5 separate regions of the Homo sapiens genome follow, and regions 2, 3, 4 and 5 are each linked to region 1. Evidence: promoter capture Hi-C in 16 types of primary human blood cells and fetal thymus (Javierre and others, 2016). All regions are on one chromosome and are shown on one strand. The core of a region is centred on a gene start or on the middle of the fragment in contact, and the rest is flanking DNA. Distances in the headings are between cores, read along the strand shown. Region 1 holds the start of GGN (gametogenetin). Region 2 overlaps WDR87 (WD repeat domain 87). Region 3 holds the start of HNRNPL (heterogeneous nuclear ribonucleoprotein L). Region 4 has its middle 4.2 kb from the start of LGALS7. Region 5 overlaps ACTN4 (actinin alpha 4).

The links. Contacts are between HindIII fragments. The CHiCAGO score rates a contact against its expected background, and 5 or more counts as called.
Region 2: a fragment that was not itself captured here is called in contact with the fragment with the promoter of GGN in region 1 in 2 of 17 cell types (M2 macrophages and total B cells); the score reaches 6.9 in M2 macrophages.
Region 3: a contact is called between the fragment with the promoter of HNRNPL here and the fragment with the promoter of GGN in region 1, in 7 of 17 cell types (non-activated CD4 T cells, fetal thymus, naive CD4 T cells and 4 more). The highest score is 9.5, in non-activated CD4 T cells.
Region 4: a contact is called between a fragment that was not itself captured here and the fragment with the promoter of GGN in region 1, in 1 of 17 cell types (non-activated CD4 T cells). The highest score is 6.7, in non-activated CD4 T cells.
Region 5: a fragment that was not itself captured here is called in contact with the fragment with the promoter of GGN in region 1 in 1 of 17 cell types (neutrophils); the score reaches 8.6 in neutrophils.

Annotation. Positions count from the first base shown.
Region 1 is chr19:38,385,962-38,389,824 of GRCh38, reverse strand. GGN (gametogenetin) reads left to right here and starts at 1,791. Exons shown (of 4, transcript NM_152657.4): 1 at 1,791-1,850; 2 at 2,003-2,064; 3 at 2,545-3,863. The coding sequence starts at 2,564. It overlaps SPRED3 (sprouty related EVH1 domain containing 3), which reads right to left and starts at 1,128. Exons shown (of 6, transcript NM_001394336.1): 1 at 1,018-1,128. RefSeq lists silencers at 2-296, 1,756-1,995. The HindIII fragment of the contact is 15,577 bases long and covers 1-3,361 here.
Region 2 is chr19:37,893,426-37,897,288 of GRCh38, reverse strand. WDR87 (WD repeat domain 87) reads left to right here. Exons shown (of 6, transcript NM_001291088.2): 3 at 981-1,151; 4 at 1,833-3,863. It overlaps LOC105372395 (a long non-coding RNA gene), which reads right to left. Exons shown (of 5, transcript XR_935962.3): 5 at 616-649. It overlaps LOC107985301 (a long non-coding RNA gene), which reads right to left and starts at 461. Exons shown (of 3, transcript XR_001753935.2): 1 at 434-461. The HindIII fragment of the contact is 3,479 bases long and covers 224-3,702 here.
Region 3 is chr19:38,848,191-38,852,053 of GRCh38, reverse strand. It overlaps HNRNPL (heterogeneous nuclear ribonucleoprotein L), which reads left to right and starts at 2,068. Exons shown (of 13, transcript NM_001533.3): 1 at 2,068-2,354. The coding sequence starts at 2,088. RefSeq lists silencers at 1-210, 1,931-2,190, 2,201-2,740 and enhancers at 1,291-1,360, 1,691-1,780, 1,931-2,868, 2,941-3,030, 2,869-3,807. The HindIII fragment of the contact is 20,955 bases long and covers 1-3,863 here.
Region 4 is chr19:38,775,782-38,779,644 of GRCh38, reverse strand. No RefSeq gene overlaps it. Among named protein-coding and RNA genes, the nearest start is that of LGALS7, 4.2 kb to the right of the region's middle. The HindIII fragment of the contact is 1,173 bases long and covers 1,200-2,372 here.
Region 5 is chr19:38,696,528-38,700,390 of GRCh38, reverse strand. The region is part of intron 1 of ACTN4 (actinin alpha 4); the gene reads right to left. Among named protein-coding and RNA genes, the nearest start is that of CAPN12, 46 kb to the left of the region's middle. The HindIII fragment of the contact is 9,950 bases long and covers 1-3,863 here.

The sequences.
Region 1 (3,863 bases), core at 542-3,041:
GGCCACAGGCTGGGTGAGAAACCCAGGCTCTTTCCCCCCCACCCACCCCTTCCCGGATTTATGAATGAGACCGGATGCAAAGCTCACTGAGTCACCCAGCAACGGGAGATGGGCAGGGAACAGGGAGAGAACCAGAAATGGCCAGAAAGAGAGGCTCAGAGGGAGACGGAGGCAGAGGAAGTCAGAAACGGGCGACCGAAGACACATCCAGAGAGCATTTCATTCACAAAAATCAAGGCTGCTCCCCCAGGCCCCAGCCGAGGGAAGCCAGGGGGGAAAGATGGGATGGGGGGGCAGATTGATCCTTCCTCCCTCTTCCCTTCCCGCCCCCCAGCCCCAGCATCCTTCAGAACCATTTTACCCCGCCCCCCAGCTCAGAGGACGTAGCCCTCCGCCCAGTAATCGGGATCAGTGTCCAGCCCTTCACTGCCATCCAGCACAGGGACCCTGGCGTCCCAACCTTAGGGACCCGGACGAGCTCTAGCCCCCTCCCCCACCTGCAGGCTGCTGGGTTTCCCGGGCCCTTCAGGAGGGGAAGGGGCGGCTGCAGCGCCCCCAGCCCCCTTTTCTCAATGGGATGGGATTTTGTGAATGAGCAGTCACGTGACGCTGCTTCCTTTGTCCGCCCGCCTCCCCCGACAACAGGTGAAGCAGGGAATGAGAGCAGGGGTCCCCCCAGGGCCTAGCTGGAATGGGGCACTGGCATTTCAGGGTGGCCTACGCTCCCCACACATCCTGTGTCCCCCGGGGGGAGTGGTCCTCAGCGTTCCTCAACGGTGAGGGTCCAGGACGGAATTTTGTGAATGGGGCATCCTCGGAGAAAGTCCAGACCCCACAAATGAAGACTGGTACCCTGAATGGCTGCCGCGCAGTTTGGGGGGTCCCCACTCTCTAGTCCTCCTAGCCGGGGCCTTGGGGGCGCCTGGGTGGGCAGAAGGCGCAGCGCGGTCACGGCCGCCCCCTCATCGGGGCAGGCAGTCTGTCAGCCCCCGCCCCCTCGCCCCCCTCGGCACCTGCCTGCGAGGCTCCGGCCGGGCTCCGAGCGGCGGCGACGCGGCCTCCTCCTCCTCCTTTTCGTTCCGGCTCCCTGGCTGGCTCCGGCGGCGCTGGAGACGGGCACCGGGAGCCGGGGCGAGGGGGGAGGGAGGGGGAACCTGGAAGACGGGTGGGGGGGGAAGGGGCGGCTTGGGGGAGGGGTAAGAGCGAGGCGGGCTTACTTGCCTGCTGGGTCCTAGAGCCCGGCACTAGCTCCAGAGAGCAACCCCCCAGCCCCCATTTTCTTAAGATCCAGAGGGGATCCCCCACTTTTCCACCCATCTGCGCCATTGGTCTCTAATGCTATGAGGAGGGGACGGGGCAGGGACAGGGACTGGTCTCAAGGTTCTAAAGAGGTGGTGGTCTACGCTGTGGCTTGGGTGCCTGGCAGAGTTCGATAAGGGGTGGGGCGAGAGGGGAGCCTTCACAAGTGGGTGGGGTTGGAGGGCCTGGGTATAAGGAGGTTTGGATGCTGCAGGCGAGGACTAGTGCGTGCGTCACGAAGGGGCGGGCCCACGGTGGATGGGCCTTCTCGGCGCCCGGGGGGAAGGAGAGGGTCTTGAGAAGCGATGTTGCCGGGTCTTAAAAAGGCGGAGCTTAGAGGTAAATTGCCTTAGGGGCGGGGCAGATGAGAGGTCCAAAGGGGAGGAGCGACGCATCGGTGTTCGCGTGGGCGGGGCCTCGGGAGGGAATGAGAGGGGCGGGACATTCTAAAGGGGAGGGGCTAAGGAGAACAACCCAAAGGGGTGGAGCTTAGAACCAGAAGGCCTGGGGGCGAGGAACAAGACCTCGGAGTATTTCAAGGGGAGACCTAGGTTCGTAAGGGGCCGGGCTCCCGCGGGCTCGCAGGAGGGCGGGGCCTCGAGCTCCGGGGGCGGGGCCTACATCTCGGGGTCCGCCCTAGTTGTCTCGCCCACTTGCCTTCACCCGCACCCCCGTTCTTTTCGGTTATTTTCTGCTACGGCAGTTCCCTGCCCTGCCCCGGGCCCAGGGCGCCGCGGTCTGAACTCTGCTCGGCTGGAGGACTCGGTGAGTGGGTTCCTCTGGGGGGAGGCGGGGCCAGGGCGGAGCTTGGGGACAGGGGTGGAGCTTGACTGTGGATGCCAGCTAGTAGACCTGGAGCGGGAAGAGGTTTAGGGGTGAGGCCTGAGGATCTGCCCCTGCCTGGGAAGAGGGCGGGACCCAGGTGCTCTAGAGAGAGGCGGGGAGTCGGAGAGTTAGAGGAGAGGACTGAGGGATCAGCATGACCAGCCAAGGGGACAGGCATGGAACCTTAGTACATAATGGGGCTGGTAGTGAAGTATCTTAACAGCAGCTGTGTTGGGGACATGGGCAAGAAGGCGTGAGTGTCGAAGGTCGGGGAACAGGAGTGCGACCTAAGGACTTGGGCCTGATCGGATCTTGGAGAACAGGGGCGGGGCCGGTGCGGACGCATTAGATCAAGTACAGCCAGCCTCGTAGGGTCCCCACGGCCCTGGCAGGCTGACTGGAGTAAATTTTTCTGACTAGTCTCCGAGCTCCGTCAGAAATGGGGAACTTGCAGTCGGAGCCATCCGCGGGCGGGGGCTCCCGAAAAGTGCAGCCCTCGGACCGCGCCCCCGACTCCCGCCGGACGTCCCTGGTGGAGCCCGAGATGACCTCCCAGGCCATGCGCCTGACTCGTGGGCTGGGTGTCTGGTTCCCTGGCAGCGCCACACCCCCGGGACTCATGGTACCCCGGGAGCCCCAGGCCTCACCCTCGACCCTGCCCCTCACCTTAGAACGGCCCTCTCCAGTGATGCCCCCTCCTGAAGAGGCGGCCGCGGTCTCTGCACCACCCCCGGCCCCCGCGGGGACTCTGCTGCCCGGCCCGTCTAAATGGCAAAAGCCCGCGGGCACTCCAGTTCCCCGGATCCGCCGCCTGCTGGAGGCGAGCCATCGCGGCCAGGGCGACCCTCCGAGCCTCCGCCCGCTGAAGCCGCCGCCGCCGCCCCGGCAACTATCCGTGAAGGACACTGTCCCGAGGGCCCCATCCCAATTTCCGCCGCCCCTGGAGACTTGGAAGCCGCCACCACCATTACCTTCTGAACGGCAGCCGGCGGACCGCAGAATCACTCCTGCTCTGGCCACACCCGCCTCACCCCCGACAGAAAGCCAGGCTGGGCCCCGCAACCAGGGCCAGACGGCCGGCAGGGCTCGCGGAGGGGCGCCTCCCCATGCGGGCGAAGGCGAAATGGCCCAGCCTGCGGATTCCGAGTCCGGTCTGAGCCTGCTGTGTAAAATCACCTTCAAGTCGAGGCCCTCTTTGGCCCCTCCGGCAGCCTCGAGTTCCTTAGCAGCCAAAGCTTCGCTGGGGGGCGGCGGAGGCGGCGGCCTCTTTGCTGCCTCAGGTGCCATCTCTTACGCCGAGGTCCTGAAGCAAGGGCCCCTGCCTCCTGGAGCCGCTCGCCCCTTGGGAGAGGTTTCTCGAGGGGCACAGGAAGCCGAGGGAGGTGATGGAGACGGCGAAGGGTGCTCTGGTCCTCCCTCGGCGCCTGCGTCCCAAGCCCGGGCCCTACCGCCGCCACCCTACACCACCTTCCCAGGCTCGAAGCCCAAATTCGACTGGGTTAGCGCTCCCGACGGCCCTGAACGCCACTTCCGCTTCAACGGGGCTGGCGGAGGCATCGGGGCGCCGCGACGGCGTGCGGCCGCACTCTCTGGGCCTTGGGGCTCCCCTCCGCCACCACCAGAGCAGATACACTCAGCTCCCGGGCCCCGGAGGCCCGCACCTGCCCTGCTGGCGCCGCCTACGTTCATCTTCCCAGCACCCACCAATGGCGAGCCCATGCGCCCGGGGCCTCCAGGCC
Region 2 (3,863 bases), core at 714-3,213, 490 kb after region 1:
TTGCAATGAGCCGAAATCAGGCCACTGCACTGCAGCATGGGGCCACAGAGTGAGATCTTGTCTCAAAAAAAAAAAAAAAAAAAACAGGATCCCAGATGCATGTTTCATAGCACATGGTCTATCACCATGGGATAATATATATATTGTATAAATGCTTGTCCTCTGTCAAATTTAAAGGCCAGATAGGGTGTCCCAAGAGTCTCACTTAGTGCAGCTTTAAGCTTCAGTAACTTAGAGCTGCACTGACTTTGGGAGATTCCGCTATATTCCATGTGTGCGTAAGGTGATGTACTTGCCTGACTATTCTGTTAAATATTGTGTCTTTTATGGTACATGTACCTTCTACACACAAGCGAGAATGTTAGAGGGGGCTGGACTCAGTAGCTCATGCCTGTAATCCCAGCACTTTGGGAGGCCGAGGCGGGCGGATTACCTGAGGTCTGGAGTTCAAGACCAGCGTGGCCAACATGGTGAAACTCCATCTCCACTAAAAATACAAAAAATTAGCAGGGCCTGGTGGCATGTGCCTGTAGTCCCAGCTACTTGAGAGGCTGAAGCAGGAGAATCGCTTGAACCTGGGAGGTAGAGGTTGCAGTGAGCTGAGATCACGCTACTGCATTCCAGCCTGGGCAACAGAAAGAGACTCCATCTAAAAAACAAAACAAAAAAAAGAATGTTAGAGGGCAGGCATGGCTAACTTCATGTTGAAAAGAACATCATTTTTCCCTGTGTTCACACTATGAAATTTGCACACAGAGACTCTGCAGGGTTGTGTTCCCTCATGCATTGGGGGATTTGTTACATGCTTGTGAAGTATAGCTGTGCCACAGGTGATAAGTTATGCACGTGTGAGTGTAACAGGAGTAGGTCCTTCGGGTGGGAAGCATGACTTTGGGAACTGCTCCAACTGTGACTTGTGCGAGAATATATTTAGTGCCTCTGTGCCCTGGCCTCTTAGTTTATGCCACGCCTCTCTCCAGCAACCTTCGGAAGACCCAAAGAACTGCCTGATTGTGCTGAGTGACCGGTCCCAGGTACTGTTCAAAGAGTCTCGCTATCCTCAAAATATGCCGTGTGTATGCTATTACTTCAGTGATGCCCACTTCTTCGCCTCCCTCTCTTGGGTGACATCAAACACAAAAGAAATACAAGTAAGACTGCCTTTCTTACCCTTCTTGGCCCATTCTCCAAGAGCCATGCCCATATAACTGTTAGCCCAGATTGACAAAGGAGGATATTCCCCATGGATGAATGTGGTCTGGAACCAGAAATCTCTCCTCATCCTTTCTCCAATTATAGTCCCCATGTTGAGTAGGTTGTATGGTTCCCCCGAAGTAAACCAAGGTTAGGAAAAGGGTCCTAGGATTCCTGCCTCTACCGTATTTCCAATTCCCATCACCAAGGGATAAAATCACTTGAGTCCTCCAATTCCTCCTTAACATAAAACATGGGGAAATAAGGGAATATTCTGCCCTACCATCAGCTCTAGGCAGTTTCATCTTTTTTTTTTTTTTTTTTTTTTGAGACAGAGTCTCGCTCTGTCACGCAGGCTGGAGTGCAGTGGCGCAATCTTGGCTCACTGCAGCCTTTGCCTCCCAAATTCAAGCGATTCTCCTGCCTCAGCCTCTCGAGTAGCTGGGATTACAGGCACCGACACCACACCCAGCTAATTTTTGTATTTTTAGTAGAGATGGGGTTTCACCATGTTGGCCAGGCTGCTCTCGAACTCCTGACCTCAGGTGATCCACCCGCCTCGGCCTCCCAAAGTGCTGGGATTACAGGCATGAACCACCTCACCCGGCCTAGGCAGTTTCCTTCTTATTCTCTTCTAGGCTGTAGCATGGATGAAGAGCAAAACTGAGGACATGGTTGAGAAAAGAACATTCTCCATGACTGAACGATTGCCACCCATCCAGTCCATGGTCCATGCAGGCTCCTTTCATATCCTCGTGGTCTACTGTGGTGACCTGATCCTGCGACTCTTTGGGGACCACTTTCGGGCATTCAAACCCCTGGGTAAAGTGCCCTGCCGCTTCAACATCAGCTGCCTCTGCTATGACCCGGAAATGAAGATGCTTCTGTCTGGCATCCTGGGGGCAGTGGTGACCTGGGTCATTGAGCTAGGTGGCACGGGCCTCCAAATAGCCCACATGGTCTCCATGCCAGGTGATGAGCTTGTCCAGGACATCGTGCTGAATGGTCCCAGTGGCTCCCTCCTGGCCCTGTGTGAGACGGTGGTGAGGGTCCTTATGCACCAGGGCAAGGGCCAGCTGGGAGAGGTAAAGAGGTTCACGTCCACCAGCAGCGGCTCCTCCATCACCTGCTGCTTCACCTGTTTTGATCAGGGCTTTCTCTATGCTGGAAACCAAGCTGGGGAAATCCAAGTTTGGAGCCTCCAGCAGGGCCATCCACTCCACAGTTTCCAGGCCCATCAATCAGGAGTGATCTGTATCCGCAGCCGACCAGAGGCCCACACCCTGCTAACAGCTGGTAGTGACAGCCTAATCAAGGAGTGGAACCTGACTTCAGGGAGCCTGCTTCGGCGGCTAGAGCTTGGTGAGGAGCTATACCGGCTCCAGTTTATTGACAGCATTACTTTCTTCTGCCAAACTGCCCATAGTTTTTCCTTGCACCGCCTGCCCTGCTTCTACAGCCTCTTCAATGTCTGTGGCTCTGCTCCCCAGCAGTTGCGTCGGGTCTGCTGTGGAAATAACTGGTTCCGGATCCTGTGTACCACTGAGGATGGCTTGTTGCGCTTTGTGTCCCCAGTAACAGGGGACCTTCTGGTTATCACCTGGCCCTTCTCAATCCTGGACCAGGCTGTGGATTGGGCCTACGACCCAGGTAAAGAGGAGCTCTTTGTAGCAACAGGCAGCTCAGAGGTTCTGGTATTTGACACAACCCGCTGCCCTTGCCCAGCCAAGTATCTCTTAGGCACCTCACCAAATTCTCAGGACTTTGTACAATGCCTGGCTTATGGGCATTTCAACTTGGGGCGGGGTCTAGAGGGACTGATATTCTCTGGGCACCAGAGTGGTGTGATAAGAGTGCTCTCCCAGCACAGCTGTGCTCGATTAGAAAAATTCATGCACTTTGGCGCTGTACTGGCACTCTCCACGCTGTCTGGAGGGATTTTTGGTGGCCAAGGAAACTCTCTGCTCTGTTCCTATGGAATGGATGACTATGTGCACCTGTCAGAAGCTGTGCTTGATGGGGTCAAAGTACAACTGCGGCCTCTCGCCAGCATTCTCAGCAGCTGTCACCTAACACATCTGATACTCTTGCCCAAGTCTGTGGGTGCCATCACAGAGACAAACTGCCTGCGTCTCTGGAAGTTCCATGATTTTCTGTCCTCTGGGTCACAGAATGGCTTGAAATTCATAGAAACACTGCCTCTGCACCTGTGTGCCATCACATCCTTTGATGTCTGCCTCTCCTTGAGTCTTTTTGTCACAGGTTCTGCCGATGGCTCTGTTCGGATCTGGGACTTCCATGGCAGACTCATAGGCATTCTGGACTCATCACTGCACTTTGGCCCAGTCTGTTTTGCAAATGACCGGGGTGACCTGCTTGTGACTTTTAACCAGAGTCTTTACCTAGTGTCCTGTTTAAAATTGCTTCCCCCAGCCCTGCTGACTCGCCTTTCCTTTATGAGCATATCAGATGAAGTACTGGAAGTCCCTAAGCCTTTCATACCAAGCTTCTTCTTCTCCTTTGAGACCATGTTTGTGCCCAAGTACATCTACCCTGGACAAGCGCAACAGAAATTAGTGGGTCTGGAGAAACTTGTCAACAACCGGGCCATTGCCTTTGACCATTCTGTGCCACATGTGATAGAAGAAGATGAGGAAGGGAGCCCAGTG
Region 3 (3,863 bases), core at 819-3,318, 460 kb before region 1:
GAGGGGAGGGGCCCTCTCTCTCCCCCTCCCCCCACCGCATTCCTCTGACGTTGGGACGGAGCGACCCCGCCCTTCGTCGCGACCGGCCCGGCCTCCTCCCGTCACGCGGGCCACGTGCTTCAGACGCGGCCCCGCCCCCGTCTCTGTTCCGTTGGCGTGGTCGGATCTTCCTGGTGTCCGGGGGAGCTGACCGAGGTCCCCAGCAAGGCCCCCTCCCCTAACTTTATTTCCCCTCACCGGCAGAGCCACCAGGCCTGTCCCCTCTTGTATTGCCATAAACCCCATTTTTTCTGATAGGGTCTCGCTCCGTCGCCCACGCTGGAGTGCAGGGGCGCGATCACGGCTCACTGCAACCTCGAAATCCGGGGCTCAAGCGAGCCTTCCGCCTTGGCCTCCCCAAGTGCTGGGATTACAGGTGTGAGCCACCACACACGGCCTCCATTTCAAACTTAGTTTCCACCCGGACCTCAACTCGAAATCCCCCATCAGCCGGGCAGAAAGGTCCTGGAGCACTTTTGGGGCGTCCGCCGCGTTTCTCACGACGCTAGCTTCGCTTTTATTTCTTTTCCCCCCTTTGGCGATATCGTCACTTGCCAATAGCTTCGCTAAGGTGTTCCCCCCCACACCCTGCGCGGGCAGCCCCATAATGTTAAATGCCGTAGGACGGGATCCCGGGTTAATCCCCGTTTGACCCCGCTGCCTGCGCGTGATAACTGGGGCGCGCTCCTCTCCACCCCCCAGGCTCCGCCAGTTGGGCTTCGCCGGAGTCTGGAGATACCCTCCGACATTCTCTTGGTGCAGTGCGGGTGGTCTTACCCCGCCCTTGAGGAAGAAAGGCCCGACGCAGGCACAGATCACAAGAACGCCTCCCCTGTGCAGGGGGCTTGCACTGTGCCAGGTGCTGTACTGGGCGCTTGGTAGGTGGCCACCCTCTCCAGGGTCGGGGCCAGGACCTCCTGTGGTGCTCAGAGGGGTCGAGCTGTCAGGTGAAAACCACTGGCCCGAGTTATGGCTTTGAAGGGAATCCTGGGGGTCTGGGATGGCAGGGACCTGTTAATTTAGATCGCACGGACAAGATGACTTGGCCCTTAGCTCCTGCAGGAGGGGTAGTGGACTATTGCAGGTGGAAGGGACTGCATGGGCACACATGGAGAGTGCGCGGAAGAGCCTTCTCCCAAGGGAAACTGAAAGGGGTTGCGGCTGAATTTAGAACTGGACAGGGTCCGAAGACAGTCGGCAGCAGCGAGTGGTTTTCTACTGAGGAAAAGGCTCAGATTTGGGATTTTAACAATTCCTCCTAGAGGTAGAAATGAACACGGTATAGTGATGGCGACAGAGATACCCTGGGAGTTCCTGTCAATCTTGGTCTAGCCTTCCGGCGCACACACAGCGGTCGCTCCATAAGGGGGCCCCGCCTCTGGGCGGTGCCTGAAAGCGTATTTGCGCATGCGTTCTCGCCTTCGCTCGTTTCGTATACTGCACCAAAGAGCGCCTACCCTGGGGCGGGGCTCCCCATTTCATCCAATCAGAGCGTATCAACAGTCCTACCATCTGGTGAGAGGGTGCGCTCCACTCTCCATTGACCAATCAGTGGAGACGCAGAAGAATGGGCATCTGTAACCACCACTGGAGAGAGACCAAAAAAGGGCGGGGCTTCCTTGTCTCCTTGCGAAGTGGCGCGGGAAGGTCGTCATTGTGACTGGTGCTGACGGATTAGCGAGGAGACCAATGAAAGTGGGAGGGAGGCGGAGATTCTTGGGAGGTTTAGAGCGCCGTTCCTATCAGGTGCTTTTAGGGAGGCCAGCAGCGCCAGAAATCCGACCTATCAAATTGGATTTTATTTTAAGGCGGCGGGGTCGACGGAAAGACTGGCAGAAAGCGACCACCTATAAGGAGTGTCTCAGACAAACAAGGGCGGGCCCTCCTGCAGAACGGCGTGGGCAATGTCCAATAAGCGCGCAAGGCGTGTGGCGGCCTACCCTCCCCCCGCGGCGGGACCAGTGGCTCCCCCTATCGGGTGGGGGCGGCGGGTGACGGGCGTGTCCCTCCCCCAATGAGAGGCGGGGGGAGGCGGGTTCTGCGCCGCCATGTCGCGGAGGCTGCTGCCCCGGGCGGAGAAGCGGCGTCGGCGGCTGGAGCAGAGGCAGCAGCCGGACGAGCAGCGGAGGCGGTCGGGAGCGATGGTGAAGATGGCGGCGGCGGGCGGCGGAGGCGGCGGTGGCCGCTACTACGGCGGCGGCAGTGAGGGCGGCCGGGCCCCTAAGCGGCTCAAGACTGACAACGCCGGCGACCAGCACGGAGGCGGCGGCGGTGGCGGTGGAGGAGCCGGGGCGGCGGGCGGCGGCGGCGGTGGGGTGAGGCCAGGGCCCTAGGCGCTGGGAAGGCCGGGAACTGGGGGACAATTTCCCAGCTTGAGGGCATTTTATTTTTTGAGGGGGGCCTCTGCGCACGCGCCCAGGCCATCGCGTCGTTGACGGTGTGGGGGAGGGGCGGCCGTTGGGCAAACGGCGGGGTTTGCGCGAGGACAGGCGCCTGCGCGTGCGCGGGGTCCGGAGCGGGGTGTGGGGGAGCGCAGAGGAAGTAGCTCGTGAGGCGAATGGCCCAGTGCGCAGGCGCCGCGGGCTGGCGTGTGGGGGCCGGGCACGCGGCCCGGCCGGTTTTTTTCCCCTTTATCATTTTCTTCGCTGGCTCCATGCGCAGGCGCAGTGTTCCCGCCCGGCCTCGTGGGCGGTTAGGGGAGCGCCTGGTGAGCGGGAACGGGTGGGCGGCGGCCTTGTTCTCTAGAGTGGGGAATTCCGTCTGATGGCAGCTTAATCTCTAAGGCCCAGCCTTGTGTCTATACAGAAATGGATGTGTTTGAGCCTAGATGCTCTCATTTTTGTAGGCATTGAAAATGGGAAGAGGACTTGTGAAATGCACTTTTAGCCTTTTAGGAGTTGAGCGAAGCCTTGAAACCATCACAAGTTTGCTTACAGTTTCCGGGGATTCACTGGGTACCGAGGATTTGATAAACCAAACTATTTCCTGGCCATGTTGGAAGCATTTCGACCCCCTGTAATCAGTCCCTCCGAAAACACCAGTCGTTGCTTTTGGAGTGGGGCCCAGTCCCCACTCTTTCCAAAATCTTGAAGTCTTACAGGGCCGCCTATTTGCAGGGTTTTCCAGGGTTTAGGGGTTACGAGTTGCTAGCGTTTTAATCTTGGCCTTGTCCCACACATTTTAAAGACATCTTAATTGAAAATCCTTAACGCTTCCTGAGGTTGGGGGAGATACTGGGATTCCCGATTTACAAAGGAGGAAATGGGCCAGGAGAGAGATGAGATGAGGTGAATTACTGTAGGTGGCACAGCTAGTGAGGGGCAGGGCTGGAGTTAGAACTCCCATTTGTGGGAGCTGCTAACCTGGCGGGAGTGCCTCACCCTGTGGTTCGCGTGGATCGCTCCTGAAATAGAATCCAATTCTACCCACCTTCCACGCACTTCTGCCCAGTGATTCTCAGACAGGGGGCCGGCCCCAGAGCCCAGGAGAGGCGGAAGAGAGTTAATCTTTCTCCTGATGACCAGAGGCTTTTGTCGGTGGGTGTAAGATACTTCTCTTAGGAAGGAGCAGTCGGTTCTTAATGGTATGGGTTGGAGTCTCTGGTCTTTCTAAAAGACTTTCCATCCGGGAGTGGGGGCTCATGCCTATAATCCCAGCACTTTGGGAGGCTGAGGCAGGCAGATTACCTGAGGTCAGGAGTTCGAGAACAGCCTGGTCAACATGGCAAAACTCCGTCTCTACTAAAAATACAAAAAAATTAGCCAGGTGTGGTGGCGAGGGCCTGTAATTCCAGCTACTCGGGAGGCTGAGGCAGGAGAATCGCT
Region 4 (3,863 bases), core at 537-3,036, 390 kb before region 1:
CTTGAACCCAGGAGGCAGAGGTTGTTGCAATGACCCGAGATCACGCCATTGCACTCTGTCTAAAAAACAAACAAACAAAAACAAACAAACAAAAAAAAACTGGTATAAGAAGGCTCACGCCTGTAATCCCAGCATTTCGAGAGGCCGAGGCAGGTGGATCACCTGAGGTCAGGAGTTCAAGACCAGCCTGGCCAACATGGTGAAACCCCCGTCTCTACTAAAAATACAAAAAGTAGCCAGGCGCAGTGACACATGCCTGTAGTCCCAGCCACTCGGGAGGCTGAGGTGGGAGAATTGCTTGAACCTGGGAGGCGGAAGTTGCAGTGAGCCGAGATCACACCATTGCACTCCAGCCTGGTGGCAGAGAAGACTCTGTCTAAATAAATAAATAAATATGTTAAATTAAATAAAAATAAAAAGAGTCCAAACCTGCCCCACCAAATAACCCAATCCTCAAACCATTAGCTCACGCTAATGCCTCCACTTCCAGTCCAGCTCCACAGGGCTGGTGCCTACCTCTCCCTTTCCATATCTGTAACTCCCTCCCAGAAAAAAAAAGCAGTTCCAGTCCTCATCTCTGACTCCCACATGGCACCTCCCCCCGAGGCTGGTTCCAATGCCCCTCGTCGGGCACCCACCCCACACAGGTGTCCTCCTCCCATGCTGGGAGTGCAGGCTCCCTGTCACGTGTCCTGCTGGCCCTCACTGGGCACTTACGCGCAGCCTCTGCTGAGCGCTCCTCATCCTGCTCAGCCCTGACCCCCAAACACCTCTCCCAAGGACATCCCACCCCAATCAGCCCATTCAGGGCCACCATGACCTTGCTCAGCCCCACATAATAGCTTTAGGGCCCAATTGTTCAGCAAAGGAAGGAAAGGAAGGAAAGGAAGGAAAGGAAGGAAGAAGAAAAAGCTATGCATGTATTTTACTGTTTAAGCATTGAAATGTACAAGAATCACTAGGAAACTTACAAGAATTACTTGGATGAGTTTATAGAGCAATTGAAACACTGAAAAATGAATAACCTCTAAAATTATGCATTCAGTTTAAAATATTTAAGAGAGTTTAATTAACTAAGTTTATAAATGGAACTGAACACTAGAGAATAGACTTTTTCTTAGCGGTAATTGGATTGTTTTATTAATATTTACTATATTTATAAAAATAGAGTCGTGAGATTTCCAATGGGCATAAAAGCTTAAGAACAAAGTGAGTTTCTGGGGTTTTTTTGTTTTTGTTTTTGTTTTTTTGTTTGGTCTTTTTTTGATGGAGTCTTGCTCTGTCGCCCAGGCTCAAGTGCAGTGGTGCGATCACACACCACAACCTCCGTCTCCCGGGTTCAGGTGATTCTCCTGCTTCAGCCTCCCAAGTAGCTAGGATCACAGGTGTGTGCCACCACACCCAGCTAATATAGATATATATAATTTTTTGGTATTTTTAGTAGAGGCAGGGTTTCACTATGTTGGCCAGGCTGGTCTCAAATTCCTGACCTCAGGTGATCCACCGCCTTGGCCTCCCAAGGTGCTGGGATTACAGGGTGAACCACTGCGCCTGGCCAAGAACAAAGTGAGATTTCTTTCCTTTTTTTTTTTTTTTTTGAGAGGAAGTCTCGATCTTGTCCCCCAGGCTGGAGTGCAATGGCGTGATCTTGGCTCACTGCAACCTCTGCCTCCCAGGTTCAAGCGATTCTCCTGCCTCAGCCCCCCAAGTAGCTGGCATTACAGGTGCCTGCCACCATGCCCGGCTAATTTTTTCTATTTTTAGTAGAGACGGGGTTTCACCCTATTGGCCAGGCTGGTCTCGAACTCCTGACCTCAGGTGATCCGCCCGCCTCGGCCTCCCAAAGTGTTGGGATTATAGGCATGAGCCACCGTGCCCAGCCAAAGTGAGATTTCTAAGTGTCATTTTCATCATCAGAATGTTGATTTACAAAAAGCAGCCCCAGAATTACCTTCACTGTGTATAAAAAATAACCAAAATGTGACCAACAAATGACATTCATGGAGCCTGAATTTTAAATCTCTACAACCACCTAGTGTGCAATTAGCTACTTTTCATCTAAATTATTTCCTAAAAGAGGCATAAAGTAAGAAAAATCAGTCTACTCCCTCTTCTTTATTTTGAGACAAAAGAACCTCGGTGGCTAGTCAATGCTCAGCAGTGGCCAGGCCCAGTGGCTCATGCCTGTAATCCCAGCACTTTGGGAGGCTAAGGCAGGCAGATCGCTTGACTCCAGGAGTTCAACACCAGCCTAGGCAACATCGTAAAACCCTCTCTCTACAAAAAATACACAATTAGCCAGGCATGGTGGCGTGTGTCTGTAGCCCCAGCTACTCGGGAGGCTGAGGTGGTGAGCCCAGGAGGTTTAAGCTTGGAAGATTGAGGCTGCAGTGAGCGGAGACTGCACCACTGCACTCCAGCCTGGGTGACAGAGTGAGACCCCCATCTCAAAAACAAAACAAAACAAAACAAAACAAAAAAATGGTCAGGAGTGACACTGGCCAGTGGCTTCCTGGAACTAGAAGAGAGGCCACTATTTCCTGGACACCAGGAAACTTAATTGAGGAGGTGGTTAGATAGGTCTCCACAGTTCTCAAAATCAGTGAACTATACCTTTAATATCTGCATCTTTTATTTTATGGGAAGGATACCTTGATAGAAAGACTATTGAGAAATATATACATTTATTATTATTATTATTATTATTATTATTATTATATATACTTTTTGAGACAGAGTCTTGTTCTTTTTGCCCAGGCTAAAGCGCAATGGAGCTATCTTGGCTCACTACAATTTCTGCCTCCTGGGTTCAAGCAATTCTCCTGCCTCGGCCTCTCGAGTAGCTGGGAATGCAGGTGTGCACCACCACACCCGGCCTACATTAACTATTTAAAATTGAAAAAAGGTGACCAGGTGCGTTGGTTCACACTTGCAATCACAGCACTTTGGGAGGCTGAGGCAGGTGGATCACCTGAGGTCAGGAGTTCAAGGCCAGTCTGGCCAACATGGTGAAACCCCGTCTCTACTAAAAATACAAAAAGTAGCCAGGCGTGGTGGCAGGCACCTGAAATCCCAGCTACTTGGGAGGCTGAGGCAGGAGAATCACTTGAACCTGGAAGGCAGAGGTTGCAGTGAGCCAAGATCAAACCACTGCACTCCTGCCTGGGCAACAGAGCGAGACTCTGTCTCAAAAAACGAGAAAGAAAAAGAAAAAAGGCTCACGAAAATATTATTTCAGGCCAGGCGCAGTGGCTCACACCTGTAATCCCAACACTTTGGGAGGCCGAGGAGGGCAGATCACGAGGTCAGGAGTTCGAGACCAGCCTGACCAACATGGCGAAACCCTGTCTCTACTAAAAATACAAAAATTAGGCCAGGCGCGGTGGCTTATGCCTGTAATCCCAGCACTTTGGGAGGCCGAGGCGGGCGGATCATGAGGTCAGGAGACCGAGACCATCCTGGCTAATACAGTGAAACCCCGTCTCTACCAAAAATGCAAAAAATTAGCTGGGCGTGGTGGCGGGAGCCTGTAGTCCCAGCTACTCAGGAGGCTGAGGCAGGAGAATGGCGTGAACCAGGGAGGCGGAGCTTGCAGTGAGCCGAAATGGTGCCACTGCACTCCAGCCTGGGCGGCAGAGCAAGACTCTGTCTCAAAAAAAACCAAAAACAAACAAACAAAAAAATTAGCCAGGCATGTTGGTGGGTGCCTGTAATCCCAGCTACTCAGGAGGCTGAGGCCAAAGAATCACTTCAACCCGGGAGGTGGAGGTTGCAGCGAGCCGAGATCGCACCACTGCACTCCAGCCTGGGTGACAGGGTGAGCCTCTGTCTCAAAAAAAAAACAAAAGAAAAAAAAAACAAAA
Region 5 (3,863 bases), core at 259-2,758, 310 kb before region 1:
GTGGTTAATGACCCATCACAAGACCATCCAGGCGGTAAGTGGCAGAGCTTGGATTTGAACCCAGGTCTGTCAATTTTGGCAACATGTGCTTTTTCCACACCCCCAAGCTGCCTCAAGGGAGACCAGTACGCACACCAGACAAAAGCGCCTCAGCCCGCCGCCGGCTCACTCAGTCACACAAACATGACTGAGCACCAGGCTCGGTGGTGTGGAATGAACAGGTCGGGCTCCTGCCCTCATGGGGCTTGTTTTCTTGATGAAGGCCAGCCCTTCATCTGCCAGCTAGACCCAAAGGCCCCAGCTGGACCCTGGCTTCCGTGACCCGTGGCTGCTCTCCTCAGGCAGGAGCTCAGGCTGCTACGTTCCAATCACGTGCACAGATACAACCCAGAACAGGAAAGTGGCAGGAAAAGAAAAGCTCCCATAAATGCAGGATTTCCTCGAGTCTCTCTTTGAGCTTTGGGCAGCCCAAGAGCAAGCCCTCCCAGGAAAGGCCAGGAACACAGACCCTCTGAGCCCTGCACACACGCCTGTGTCGCCTGGCTTCCTGCAAGCAAGATGCCCCCGTCCCTCTGTCTCCTGGAGAACATGCCATGCCCTATCCTTCCTATTCTTTTTTTTCCTTTTTTTTTTTTTGAGAAGGAGTCTCGCTCTGTCACCCAGGCTGGAGTGCTGTGGCGCAATCTCAGCTCACTGCAATCTCTACCTCCTGGGTTCAAGCGATTCTCATGCCTCAGCCTCCTGAGTAGCTGGGACTACGGGTGTATGCCAACATGCCCATCTAATTTTTGTCTTTTTAGTAGAGATGGGGTTTTACCATGTTGGCCAGGCTGGTCTTGAACTCCTGGCCTCAAGTGATCTACCCGCCTCGGTCTCCCAAACTGCTGGGATTACAGGCGTGAGCCACCACACCCAGCCCTATCCTTCCTATTTTTAAGACTCAGTGCAGCTTAGAGGAGGCTGGAAGGCAAGTGGGAGGCAGGCCCCCTCACCGGGGTCAGGCAGCCGCATCTAAGGAGAATGTTTCTGATGATCAACTGGAAGGGATGGAGGGTACTAAACAAGAAGCCGAAGTCCCTGACCCTAACAGACCAACGATGCTGACAGGGCATGGGTACACCCAAGCACAGGGCACGCAGCCTCCTGGTGGTGCCCGGCTACTCAGCCCCCTGCAAGCTGGGGCATGCTCATAGACATCAGGGCCACAGAAGATCTCAGATCAGTTAACACCAACACGCCCAGGCGCCTTCAGGGAAACCAGCCCACGCACCCTCCTGCAACAGGACCTGGGAAAAACCCCAAGTGTCTGCTTCTTATAGGAACCCCTGTACCCCACCCCCTCCATCTGCAGGGGCCAGTGTAGAAGCAAGCAGACAGCCAGGGACACACAAGAGCACATTCCACGCCCCGGGTGCAGGCGGAGGCCATGCGGAGGACAAGGGGCTTCTACGGGGGCTCTGACCAAGCACCATGTGTTTTGACAACTGTCGCCAGCCCTGCTCATTCAGGGAGACTCGACACAAAGCCCCCTCCCAGACAAAGCAGCTGCCTAATTAATACGCCATACCAGTGTGGACCCAGCATGGGGCTTCCTTCCAAATCCGAAAGGGGGCAAGAGTGGACAGCTAGACCATCCCCCACCACCACCTCTCACCATGGAGAATTCCTCTACCTGGGAGACAGAGACCCCTCCTGGTGGCACAACGCTGTTCCCCCACTAAAGATACCTCCGCCCCGCCATGTAGCCAACCCTGGGCACCCCTCAAAAGTCAGGCCAAATGCCGTGCCTGGAGGGTACCCGCACCATGGCCTCCCTGACCCGGTTCTGCCTCAGACAGCCTCCTCCCTGCAGACCACATCACGCCCTTGCTCTCTGGTCTCTAACAGTTCTTGTCTCCAACAGTTCTTGTCTCCCTCCCTCCCACGGCTATGAACTCCTTGAGGGGAGGGGAGCCAAGGCAGGTTCTCACTGCGGAGAGTACTAACTCACCTTCCCAGCCTCCCCCATACAATACTGAATTCAGAGAGCCCAGGGCGGGAACCATGCTTACACCACTCATGTGGGCACGTCACCTAACCTTCCTAACTTCCATTTCCTCCTCTGCAACGTGGGGATGAAGACCCCACCTAGGCCACGGGCAGTGTGAGGACTCAAGATGGCCATGCCTGCAGCGTGCATGGCAATGCTCAGGAAGTGGCAGCTCTCTGGATGGCCCTGTGCCTCCCAGCATCTCCTCCCTCCCTGCCCTGGTCTCAGGAGTCCTGCCCACCCCCTCCACAGTGTGCCTGCTCTGTCCCCGGCCCACCCTCAGCACCTCTCCCGTAGCAACCCCCAGTCACTTTTAGTCTTATTGGATGTTGCATGCACATGAGCTTTCTCTCCTACCATGTGCGAGCTCCAGGGGTTGGGAAGTACGGCGCCTGCACCTTTACAGCCCCAGAGCACTGCCAGCCTTGATGGCAGGCAGCAAGCAGGCGTGGAGCCCAGGAGCCCAGCAGCCCTGCAGAGCAAAGGGCAGCAGCAAATGGGCTGGGAAGGAAGTGGCCACGGATGCTAGGCCTCTACTCTCACATGTGCCTGAGAGCAGGCACTGCTGGGCAGCAAAGTAGCCAAGACACATCCCACAGCCTGAGGACAAAAGAGGGCTGTTCCCCGAGGGCAAGGCCCCGTGCTCTGGTGTTGCCAGGCCCAGACCTAGGCACCTGGGCTGCAGGGAGGGCCACGCACGCGTGCAAACAGCACCCCTCACAGCCTTGGCCTGTGTGGGCTGCTCCTGCAGGCTCTGCAGGGGCACAGACCTGGGTTTGGGTTTGAATACCTGCCCCTTGGCTTACTCATTCCATGTTTTCAACCAAGTGACTTTACCTACTTAAGTCTGTTTCCTTCCCTGTAAGATGGATTTATCAGAATCTACCTCCTGCAGTGTGCTCTAAGAATTAAACTAGGGAAAATACATTTAAAGCATGTGACAGGCTCCTTGGCATAAAGTAAGAGCCAGATGAATCACACGCATGTGTGTGCATGTACACACGCACATAAGCACGTGCTGAGATCCAGTCTCTTCTCTGCAAAGGCTCTCAGACCACCCACTGGTATGCAGGGAAAATGGGATGGCAGGAGACCCTCTGCGGATGGCCCCACCCCACCCTGTGGAGGCTGTGAACAAACCTCGCCGCTTGGGTTCTGGCCACCTGTCCTCAGAGGGGCTGCTGCCCTACCCGCCCTCCATACGTACATCCCACCTGTGCTCATCTTCTCTGGGTAGTAAACAAGAGCTCTGGCTTGGGCATCACACAGGTGCGGATTCACATCTTGCTTCTGCCACTGAGGCCTCAGGCAAGCAATAAGCCTCAGTTTCCTCACTGATAAACAGGACAGTAACCGAGAGGTTAAGATAGGGATTAAACACAAGGACACATGTCAATCACTCCGTGCTGTGTTAAATGCATGTCAAAGGAAGGTTTGCTCTGAAAGCAATGGTAACTCTTCCGTGTACTCTGTCTTCCTGACTGACACAGGCAAAGCCCCAAGCACAGGTGCTCAGGGAGGATGCCCACTCGCCTGGCCTGGATGACGCAGAAGGGAACTCCCACCCAGATCCGGACCTGACACAGGCTTGGGGAACCCCACTGATGCACTCCTGTTCTCACCCCATGTCTTGCTTTGCCCTGTTTTGTCCTCCTGGAAGATGAGGGGCATCTATTGACATCAGAGGTTCACAAAGCCCTCAGCTCTGGTGAGGAGAGCCTGCACTCACAAGGCCACCCTTGGGAACAGGTCGACCATGACGGCCACTTCTCCATGCGGAGAGACTGGTGAGTAGGAGCTGGAGTTCGAATGGGACATTAAAAATTCATCGCTT